Regions from separate parts of the Homo sapiens genome. Here all the other regions are linked to region 1. Evidence: promoter capture Hi-C in 16 types of primary human blood cells and fetal thymus (Javierre and others, 2016). All regions are on one chromosome and are shown on one strand. The core of a region is centred on a gene start or on the middle of the fragment in contact, and the rest is flanking DNA. Distances in the headings are between cores, read along the strand shown.

What was found. The method cuts DNA at HindIII sites, captures the fragments that hold promoters and counts their contacts. A CHiCAGO score of 5 or more calls a contact.
Region 2: a fragment that was not itself captured here is called in contact with the fragment with the promoter of ARGLU1 in region 1 in 2 of 17 cell types (naive B cells and total B cells); the score reaches 6.1 in naive B cells.
Region 3: a fragment that was not itself captured here is called in contact with the fragment with the promoter of ARGLU1 in region 1 in 2 of 17 cell types (total B cells and non-activated CD4 T cells); the score reaches 8.9 in total B cells.

What each region holds. Positions count from the first base shown.
Region 1 is chr13:106,566,439-106,569,977 of GRCh38, reverse strand. It overlaps ARGLU1 (arginine and glutamate rich 1), which reads left to right and starts at 1,841. Exons shown (of 4, transcript NM_018011.4): 1 at 1,841-2,405. The coding sequence starts at 2,059. RefSeq lists enhancers at 1,700-1,769, 1,780-1,899, 1,575-2,485 and a silencer at 2,380-2,679. The HindIII fragment of the contact is 1,462 bases long and covers 1,127-2,588 here.
Region 2 is chr13:103,038,970-103,042,508 of GRCh38, reverse strand. No RefSeq gene overlaps it. Among named protein-coding and RNA genes, the nearest start is that of SLC10A2, 26 kb to the left of the region's middle. The HindIII fragment of the contact is 4,279 bases long and covers 1-3,539 here.
Region 3 is chr13:109,788,283-109,791,821 of GRCh38, reverse strand. It overlaps LOC124903211 (WAS/WASL-interacting protein family member 1-like), which reads right to left. Exons shown (of 2, transcript XM_047430835.1): 2 at 826-3,539. Among named protein-coding and RNA genes, the nearest start is that of IRS2, 3.5 kb to the right of the region's middle. The HindIII fragment of the contact is 1,232 bases long and covers 995-2,226 here.

The sequences.
Region 1 (3,539 bases), core at 592-3,091:
TTTGCCTCCCATCCCTTCCCTCATGTGAGGACACAGTGTTCGTCCCCTTCTGTGGACCCAGCAAAACAAGGCACTATCTTGGAAGCAGATAGCAAGCTCTTATCAGACACTGACTCTGCTGGTACCTTTATCTTGGACTTCTTAGCCTTCAGAACTCTGAGAAATAATGTCTATTATTTATAAATCACTCAGTCTAAAGTATTCTGTTATAGCAGTGGAAATGGGCTGAGATAGGCACTAATTCCAGTTATGAGGTTAGAGCCCTCATGACCTAATCAATATCCCAAAGCCCCACCTTTTAATACTATTGCACTGGTGATTAGGTTTCAACATATGAATCTGAGGGAACACAAACTTTCAGACCCTAGAAGTGCCACTAAAAGAGAGCTCAGAGAGCTAGCTTTCCCCTTCTATCATGTGAGGGCACTGTGAGTAGGTGCCTTCTGTGAGTCATCTGTGAATCTCTGGGTCCTCACCAGCGACCAGATTGGCTAGCACCTGGATCCTGGATTTCCAACTTTCAGAACTGTGAGAAATAAATTTGTTGTTCATAAGCTGCCTAGTTTATGATATTTTGTTACAGCAGTCAACACAGACTAATACACTACTCTTCTTTGTTTCCAAGTTTTCTTGATAATTAATTATGTGATCTTCCATATAAAACTTAAAATTAATTAGTTCTAAAACACATATCCCCAAGAGAATTTGGGACTCTCATGAGAATTGCACTAATTTTGTAATTTGACTTGGGAAGAATTGACAGTATTTTTGATACTGACTACTCACCTAAGAATACAGCATGTTTTACATTTACTAGGGCCTTATTACTGCCTTTTCAGTAAAGGTTTATAATAAAGATTGTGTAACTTGTTAAAGTTTATCCCTAAGTATTTTATGGTTTCTGTTGCCATTGTGGAGGAAATATTATTTCATTTTTAATATGTTTTTGCTTATTCAAATAATTCTAATTTTTCTTCTACTTACTTAAGCTTTATTATTGCACTCAATTTTAAAATTGAGGCACCTAGATTTTCAAGGGTTCCTGTCATCTGCAAATATTAACATTGCCTTTTCCTTTTAGGTCTTAACAATGACACAGTTTGTTGTGCCACATAGGGACGAAGCTTTTCGTGGCTAGGGTTGAGGAGGGCTTGCTGGTTATGTGCAAGGGCTTTGCACAATATGATCTAGGTTCACGTCCCTGCTCTGTCACCTACTGGTTGTGTGACCCTTATTTAACCTCTGTGGACCTCAGGGTCCTCATCTCTGAAACGTGGATAATAGTAGTACTTAATTCAGAATTGTAAGAATTAAGCACTTGTTAATACATTAAAGCATTTAGAAGGCACATTAAGCCCTATAGTAAGCATTAGGTTACATTCATCAAAACCTGCTGCCTACTTACCTCCTGCAAGTCTCATAAGCACTTCAGAAAGTGTGGTGTCTCCATTCTACGAATGAGGAAACTAAGTCCAAGGCAGCAAGTGATGAGTGCAGGGTCACTTGGAGATACATTTTAGGGCTGCCCCACAAGACCAGCTCCTAGAAAATAATGCAATCAATCAACTTCTGCGAGGCCGGACTTAAATCCCACTAAAACGTGCTTAATTCATTCAACAGGCGTTGGCATCTTACCAGGGAGGAAAAAAAAAAAAAGAGTACGCCAAGGCGAAAAGGAGAGTCTCCATCTATTGCGTCTCAGGCTTCCGCCAAGACTGGCGGAAAAAAACGAGTCCGCTCCGAAGCGCTCGCCTGCCTTCGGCAAAAATCGTCAGGAGGCGGGGCCCACGCTTCGGCACGTTTCGCGCAGGGCATTGTGGGAAGGGCGGCCGGTGCAGCCGCAGCTGCCATCTTAGGGGCGCCTGGCGCTACGGGTTTCTCGTTGGAGGCGGCCTTCGTGGCAGCTGTAGACGCCGGGAAAAGGCATAAAGTCCGTTGGCCGACACCTTTCTTTCCTCCGGCCTCGGTAGAACCGCCAGCCCGCGTCCGAAGGCGGAGGCGAGGGGAACTGGCCGCGTGAGGGGCCTGAGGCGAGCGGTTAGAGCGTCTCCCGGAAGGATGGGCCGGTCTCGGAGCCGGAGCTCGTCCCGCTCCAAGCACACCAAGAGCAGCAAGCACAACAAGAAGCGCAGCCGGTCCCGGTCGCGATCCCGGGACAAGGAGCGCGTGCGGAAGCGTTCCAAATCTCGGGAAAGTAAACGGAACCGGCGGCGGGAGTCGCGGTCCCGTTCGCGCTCCACCAACACGGCCGTGTCCCGGCGCGAGCGGGACCGGGAGCGCGCCTCGTCCCCGCCCGACCGCATCGACATCTTCGGGCGCACGGTGAGCAAGCGCAGCAGCCTGGACGAGAAGCAGAAGCGAGAGGAGGAGGAGAAGAAAGCGGAGTTCGAGCGGCAGCGAAAAATGTGAGTGCCCGCGCGGGGAGGGACCGGGGCGTGCGGAGAGCAGGGCGCGGGGCGAGGGCGTGGGGCCGGGGCGGGACGGTGCGGGCCGGGAGAATGGCGGGGACGGTCCGGGGCTGGGGACCGGGCGCGGGAACGGGTCGGAGAGGCGGCGGCGGGGCGGGCAGGCTTGGCGTTTGGAAAGCTTGGGGTGGGACAGACCCAGAAGTTGTTCGGGATGGAAAATTCGAGGGCTTGAGCAGAAAGGGTTTAAGAGAAGGCGATTTTGGCGCGAGAGAGGAGTGGTGTCCCGGAAGTAGGGGTGGAGTTCGGAGTGAGGTCGGAGAGCTGCGTTGGCTTGTGAGGCCGGGAGCGAGCCGGCCTGCAGATGTGGAGGGTGGTGAGCGTTTGCTGGTCGGCTTGAGGAGGAGAGAGAAGGGAATTAACCTTTGAGATGCGAATCACAGCTGGCCAGAAGCATTCTATTGAAGCTCAAATTTGGGACAGGACTTAACTAATCTCGGGAATCATACACTTTAGGTGGTCCGCCAGAAAAATGCATTTTCACTTTAGTGTATTCCTGTTGTTAAGGTGTTGGGATTGCTTTTTTCCCCTTGAGCCTACACCCTCACCCCTTCCTTGAGATGTTAAAAAAAAAAAGCATAGACCTTAAGTGTACAGTGCGATGAGTTTTTTGACCTTTGAATTCACCTGTGTAATCACCATCCCAAAGCCTACCGCTTTTTTAACTTGCTTTCTATTCCTGTAGCAAACACGTGCAGTTTTGTTGTTTCCCTTACACTGTGCTTCTTCAGAAGACACTTGAAGGGTTGATTTTATTTTGGCGTTGCTCCCATGAAGGATATTTAGTGAAAACTAGAGTTAGAGTGTGTTTCCGAAAATGTCAGCTCTCAAGTATTTCTGGCTATGAAAGTAGATGTGGATAAATAATCCCAAACTAAAGGAATTTTTGGGTTTTAAAATTTAGGGATTTGTTGTGTGTTTTGCTTTATGATCATCGTACTTTGATGCTCTGGGTATTCAGTTTCCAAAAACCGCATTGAAAAGTAGATTTGAACAGTCCTACTAACTCCCTATTGAACCAGCCGTACTTGGTCAGTTCTTCAGTGAATATTTAGAAAGTGCTCATGAAGCAAG
Region 2 (3,539 bases), core at 475-2,974, 3.5 Mb after region 1:
AGATTGAAAAGAGAAGTCAAAAAAATTTTTCTGACAAAAAGTCTGATGTAATTGACTGGTTTCTCTGCTAATTAAGAAATATAAAAGACATTTCTTGTAAATTACATGAGCTCGATCTGCAGCTCTAAGGTTTAAAAAATATATTTAAAACATATGAAAAGCACATTATAAAATAATTGATCTAAAATATATAAAGAACTCTTGAAACTCAATAATAAGAAGTCAAGGAACCCAACTGAAAAATAAGCAGAAGAATTTGAATAGACACTTCAGCAAAAAATGGTACTAAAAGCAAATAAGCACATGGCAATGGGAGGTACATTCATGAGAAGATACTCAACACGACAATATTAGATAAATCCAAATTAAAACCACAATAAGGTACCACTGCATGCTCAATAAAATAACTAAAAAGAAAAAAGTGCTGACAATAACAAGTGTTGACAAGAATGTAGATTGCTAAGCGGTACAACCACCTTCGAAAACGTGTTGCAGCTTCTCATAAACCTACACTAACCATGGGACCCAGCAGTCTCCCTCCTAGGTATTTACCCAAGGTAACCAGAAGTGAAAGGGTGACAGAAAGCCAATCAGGCATCAAGCATCTGGGGAGGCAATTACTGCAAAAAGATATGATGTACCATGTGGAAGTGACAGAAATGTTCTATATCATAACTTTGGTGGTGGATCCACAACTTTATACATTTGTCCAAATTCACAGAACTGTACTTTTGAAATTAGTGACTCTTATTCTATGTAAATGTTATTATAATAAAGCTGATCAAATATTTTTTTGCCCAAGATGTAGCAGGAAATGTATCTAATATTTTTATCTTCTCCACCCTTTTGTGAGAATAGAGTTAAATGTGGAGACTGTAAGTGGAAGAATAACAGAGTCTAGAGCTCTTAGATACATCTTGCAATGCCTTTGGTAGCACACTTTCCAGAAATTGAGATGGCAAATGACTTCAGTTCAAGAAACATTTTGAAAGATGGGTAATTCCAATTCTTTACTTTCAAGAAAACTGGAAGAGGATCCCATCAAGTTGTTAATCCTTGTATTTTAAAAAAGTTTTGCTGATAGACCACTATGTGGTATTGTTTTTGCGTGTAACTTGGAAATTTGAGGGACAATATATACCAAAAATCCTCTCGTTATCATCTTCCTTTTTATGTAAACAAGGTTTATAAGCACTTAAACCCATAAAAAAGAGGCACAAAATAGTTGTTGCTGTGTCTCAGTCTAACGATAACAGGACAGTGTATATTGCATTCCAGGCTTTCGTCTAAGTTCTTTACACATGTGAACTCATTTAGTCCTCACAATCACTCTGTGGGATATGTAATATTTCTCCCACTTTTACAATTGAGGGAACTTAGGCACAGAATGATTAAGTAACTTTCCCAATGTCACTTAGCTGGCAAAGGGTGAAACTTGAACTCCAGAAGTTTAGCTGTATATTCTGTTCTGTTGACCACAGCACTCAAGTACATAATATTTATCCAAAAATACACAGTGTCAAAATTCTCATAAATACATCACATTAGAATAAAATTCTATAATGGAAAAAGGATTACATAAGTTCAAGTCAAAAGAAAAACAATGTAAAATTCTCAAAAACGAAGGCAAAACTTCTCATTTTTTAAAAATCAGTAATAAATATCTATGAGGTGTGTAGATTTCAATGGATATATTTAAAAGTGATGTATCACTTTAATTTTAAATTTTCATTTTTACCAAATTGTATTTTCAGCTTTTGTCAGAAATTGAACTTGTAATTATTTAACCTTATGATAACAAATGTTAAATATCAACTAAGAATGTATAAAGTATACATCAGTTTTAAAAATTGTTTGGAGTTATATAATCAAGTTTCTTTTTTTTCTAAATTCCAGTGGTTTGACCTTCTATTAATTTGCTAAGTGGTACATTTAAAAACCTGTTCGGTGTTATAAAGCTGGTAGAGAAAAATTAATTCTAAGAAATCATCATTGCCTTTGCTGGGAATAAGTACACGCCAACAAATATACATGTAAGTAATAAGAGAGACAGTATCATTATTTAAAATTAAAAATAGTAGTTTAGGATGTTTAAGTACAAAGATTACTTACATGTCAAACCAGCAGGGTTTTCAGCTGCTTGATTGATTTATACAATATAAGTCAATTCTTAAGTCATTGTGGTTACTGTTCTCAAATCAGAAGAATTTTAAAAGAATAGCTTTGAAAAATAACAAATATGATTCTGTCCTTTTGCTACTGGGACATAATGACTCTTTCATGCCTCATGGCATAAGAAACATAAGGCTAAGTCTTCTAAGCTGTATCACTAATGTCAATCCTTTAAAGGAGTCAGTGAAGACAATACAGACATTCATTAAGAACAAAATGAGACAGAGAAGGAAAAGGGTTATGAAATCACGTTAAGTGAAAAAAGCAAATTGGTAATTAATTATATTTATATTGCAATCCTTGCAAATGATAGGGAATAAAAAGGAGGGGAAACATTAAAGGGTTTTTTAAGGAAATGAGACCATGAGGTTGCTTTTTCAATATTTTCCTTTACTATCATATGATATATGAGACAACAAAATCAAGAGAAAGAAATATTAAAAGTGGCTTCAAGGGTTAACATGGCTTCCCCGGGGTCAATGTACAGGTCTGGTGAGTATGGATGGAGTGGAGAGAAATGAACCTCTCCATTGGTCTTGCAGTTTCTGCCATTTGTACCTTCTTCCTTCCCACTGGCCCTAAGAATCTCTGCCCCTCACCAGTAAGGCACAGGCTTTTCAGGTGTAGCAGATACTATTGTCTGGTTAACCCAGCACTCATTTCCAACCCCCTCTCCGATTCCCACCTCAACTAAAAACTCACATGTCAACCTTCATTTGCAGCTAGGTAGCCATGTGACACCTTTCTAGACAATTACATAGAAGCAGAAATCTCTTCAGGAAGATTCTAGCAAAGCCTTTGGTAATTTTTTGTTGATGTTGCTATCGAGGTAATAGAGACACCTGTCATTGACCCTTCTCCCACCTCCTGCTGCCTTAAAGACAAAGGGTTGCCTGGTACTGCAACAGCGACTATAGAACAGCACAGAACCAGCTCTAGCAGTGTTGAGCCACTGAAGCAAAGCCAATAGCTGCCAGCCTGTAAACTTGACACCTAAGCAAAACAAACACCTACTTACTTAATCTGTTGTTACCCAGATATGTTATCACTTGCAGCTGGAAGGATTCCTAATTTATAGACCTGAGGATCCCTGTCACTGGAATTGCCTTAGGTATAAGGTACTCACAAAAATGCCTGAGGAATCAGTGATGGTGAACAACAGAAAACTTAAAAGGCTAACAGGAATATCAAGGCAGTCTCTCCATACAGCATTTGGCTTGGGGCACAATAAGGTGGAAAGTTCCATAAAGACAATGACTATAACATTTGATTTGCCATATCTCTCATTATCACAAAGGAAACTTATTGCCTACTTATATTCATATTGGCTCTGAATCGGAATATTTAAAACGTTGCTCATTTCCAAG
Region 3 (3,539 bases), core at 361-2,860, 3.2 Mb before region 1:
TTGGGATATAAATTGCATTAGAAAATATGAACATATTTGCTTGATACTTAATTCAACCATAAAAAATAAAGTATTGCACTTATTAATGTTCTCTTCCCTCATTTGTCATCTGATATTGCTCTTAGTCACTCACTATCAAAATTTCTTTGTTTAATCTTACTTCTATTAATTTCCTTAAAGTTTCATGCAAAGCAAATTTATGTCAGGTTGTAAGCACCTTTCTCTCAAAGCAACCACCACTGTATTTGTGACAACTCATGCCAGAACCCTGAATCTGCCTTGGGAAGAAACATTGCCAGTTGGTGGCAGCATTCACAAGAGAGGGTCACATTTCCTCTGTTATCTTTAGGTTGAATTTCAAAACAACTCTAGAAAACAGACTCAGAGGGCTAGCCTTGGAAACAGCATGCAAACAACTGCAGAAAAGCGGAAGGTTTCTGACTATAATACAGTTCTACCAAACAGCAGAGCATGTGGCAAAAAAGCCAGGCTGGCTCCCTTCCTCCTGTTTACCTCCTGAGCAGTGTATGAAACAGGGTGAGCTTGCTCCTGGAATCAATAGGTGAATCAATGAACACAGGCTGGTCTTCCCCACTTCATAACATCTGTACTCTGTACAAGGACACTCCGGGCCACCCTCGCTGAGCATCCTCCCGCCCTCTCCCAGAAAATATAGCTGTGTCATCTTACAGACATTTTTAATGTCATCTGCTTATGATGTGCAGATTGAGAAGCAGACAATTTTGTTCTGCTCTGGCATGAAAAAAAAAAAACGTTTTAATCGGCAGCTAGGATAGCAACATGAAGCAACACACAGGACATCAATTTCATCATGCAAAATACCGGTGTATTATATTACAGGGGCCAAGCATTCCAAGGAAAAGTAATGATCTAAGAAGATGCTCTTGCATTTTAAAAATATCTACTAGTGTTATACAGTCATTAATGTATAATTTCCATTTCAATAATAGGAAGCCTTCTGGGAAAAAAAGCTTGTGTTGCTTCTTAAATCTAGAAACACATTCTCAAAATTCAAACAGAACAAAATCCAGAGGCATATTAATAAATATTTTCAACTCCTAACCGCAGTCACTTTTTAATTGGGCATTTATGTATTTCTTCAACATAATTATATTTATAATGAAAAAATGTTGAGAATACTGGATTAGCTGCATTTGTAACTACAACATATTTTTCTAAACAGTATTAATTCAATTGATAAGACTTTAAAAAAGTTATAGTAGTTTGTTCTATCATATATGCACATTAAATAATCATTTATTTTAGAAAATCCTCCCTCATAAAATGAACATTTAGGAAAGAGACTGATCCATATTTTTAACAAGAATAATAAACACACAAGTAGAAAGCCTTTATAATTTCCAAGGGGCTGATCAATTCCATTAACAAATCCTGATACTTTAAATGTTTGCAATGCCATACATAGCAAATGATCCAAACAGCAGTTATATTCTCTCATGTAAGTCATTCTGTTGCCCATACACAGAGTTAGCATGTTACAAAACTCTTGTGAAATTTCAGTTGAAACATTAGCAAATAAATTTGCTGGTAAAGTGCAAGAAGTTTCCTTATAAACCCTAGATGAGGAAAAGTCTGTCCACAGTTCGTTCATCAGAGGAATGGAATTTCTCAAATGAGCTACTGAACAACATTATCTAATAAAATGAAATATAATGAAATGGTGCCACTCATTTTAAAGATTAAATATATCCTTTGACAGAAACCTGTGAAGTTAAAAATCTTTCCCTCTTAAAATACCTTTTAAATTAAAGCTATTCTAACTAGTTATATAGCATTCCACTTAATCTGCTTAGTTTTTAGATTGAGCTCACCTAAATACAAAATACTGTCAAACACCTACAGGGCAAAGAACTAAAAAAAGAAAGAAAATTTCACAAGCAATAAAATGCTATTCACCTTTCTCCTCCCATACTTGCCTTTCCTATATGAAACAAAGAAAATAATTAGTGATGTTCATTATTGGTAGTGCTACTAGTATTTGTATTGTGAACCTGTAACATATTTTTAAATCTCTACACTTTTATATAATTGATTCTTTCTTGAAAAGTAATTATTTCAGAAGACTTCTAATAAAATAATCATTATTGTATATGATTCTGTTAAAAATAGAAAAAACAAACAAACAGAAAAAACTCCCTGCTGAAAGATATGGCCATTTTATTAGCTGTGAAAGGAAAGAAAGCTTCCAAGGAAAGATCTTGGACCATGAGAAAAAATTTCAACCAGGCTGTTTGCTGGCAAGAGGCCATGCCAGCCCCAGCCAGTCCTGCGTGCAGAGCATGTTGGCAGATGTTATTAGCTGACTTTTGTTGAAAAAGTATGGAAGAACAGTTGGAAAATCACAAGGTGTAGAACAAGCTTTAAATAAATAAATAGCTTATCTGGCAATAGAAAGGGGGAAAGAAAACAAGTTCCTCGGTTGAGGAAGAGGACTGGGATACTTCTAATTACAGAGTTTCTTACTGTTGGTTTGTTTCATGGGCTGACTCTCAATGAGAATTGAAATTGTATCATCCACATTTGTATTTGGAGGTTCTAACTGCAGAATTGCAATTAATTTCCAGTTTGCTGTAGGAAATTTATACTCTCTATGACAGAATACCACGGACATAGGTGATAATTCTTTAACCTTCTCTCTTTTGTCCCCAGTCTGGTAACTGAGGCAGTACATGGGGAAAGTGCTAACTGCCAATCCAGAGCTGCTGACACCTTAAAAACACTGGCCTTTAACACTAGGATGGCCCCAAGAAACAAGCAAACAGGAAAAGATGACACCTGCTAGCGTGTGACAGGCACAGCAAGTAAATGTTCAATACGGATATGAAAATGCAACTGCATAATAAAAGTCAACATGAAAAAGAAAAAGATTGCAAAATATACTTTCTCAGAAGAAACCATCACATGATGTTTAAAAGTGGTGGTTCCTTTAGCATTGTCTACTGATGGCTGGCAACATACAGGAACATAGAGGTGGCCCATTTACATCCTCATAAAAGTGGGATGTAAGTGATCACAAAGCCAATAAAACTACACCACATTTTCTTCAAGCACCAAGATAAGAATCCCTTCATCTTTCCTGACTAGACATATTGCTAGGCAACATTTGTGAACGTAAGAAAAGGTAACAAGATCTAAAAAGAACGCCGAAGCATAATGTTCATAAAGGTGGCGCCCCCAACACACACAATCATACACACATACCTATACACACACAATCACACAATCTATTATATAAACAAACACGCACACATGCACACATAGGTGCACAGACTTAAAATGGCATTTCTTGAGGTATTTTTTTTTAAGGTATGATTTAAAAATGGAAGATCAACTTTAAACACACCTTTTTGAGGCACACTGGGTGATATTTGCCACAATGATTATTCTTCCCAAATTCAGGCTACTGATCAATAATCCTAACTGTATACATGCTAAAAATAAAAACGCTATAATCTTTGTACTAGTCAGGGCTCTCTTGGCACATAAAATTAGCCAAC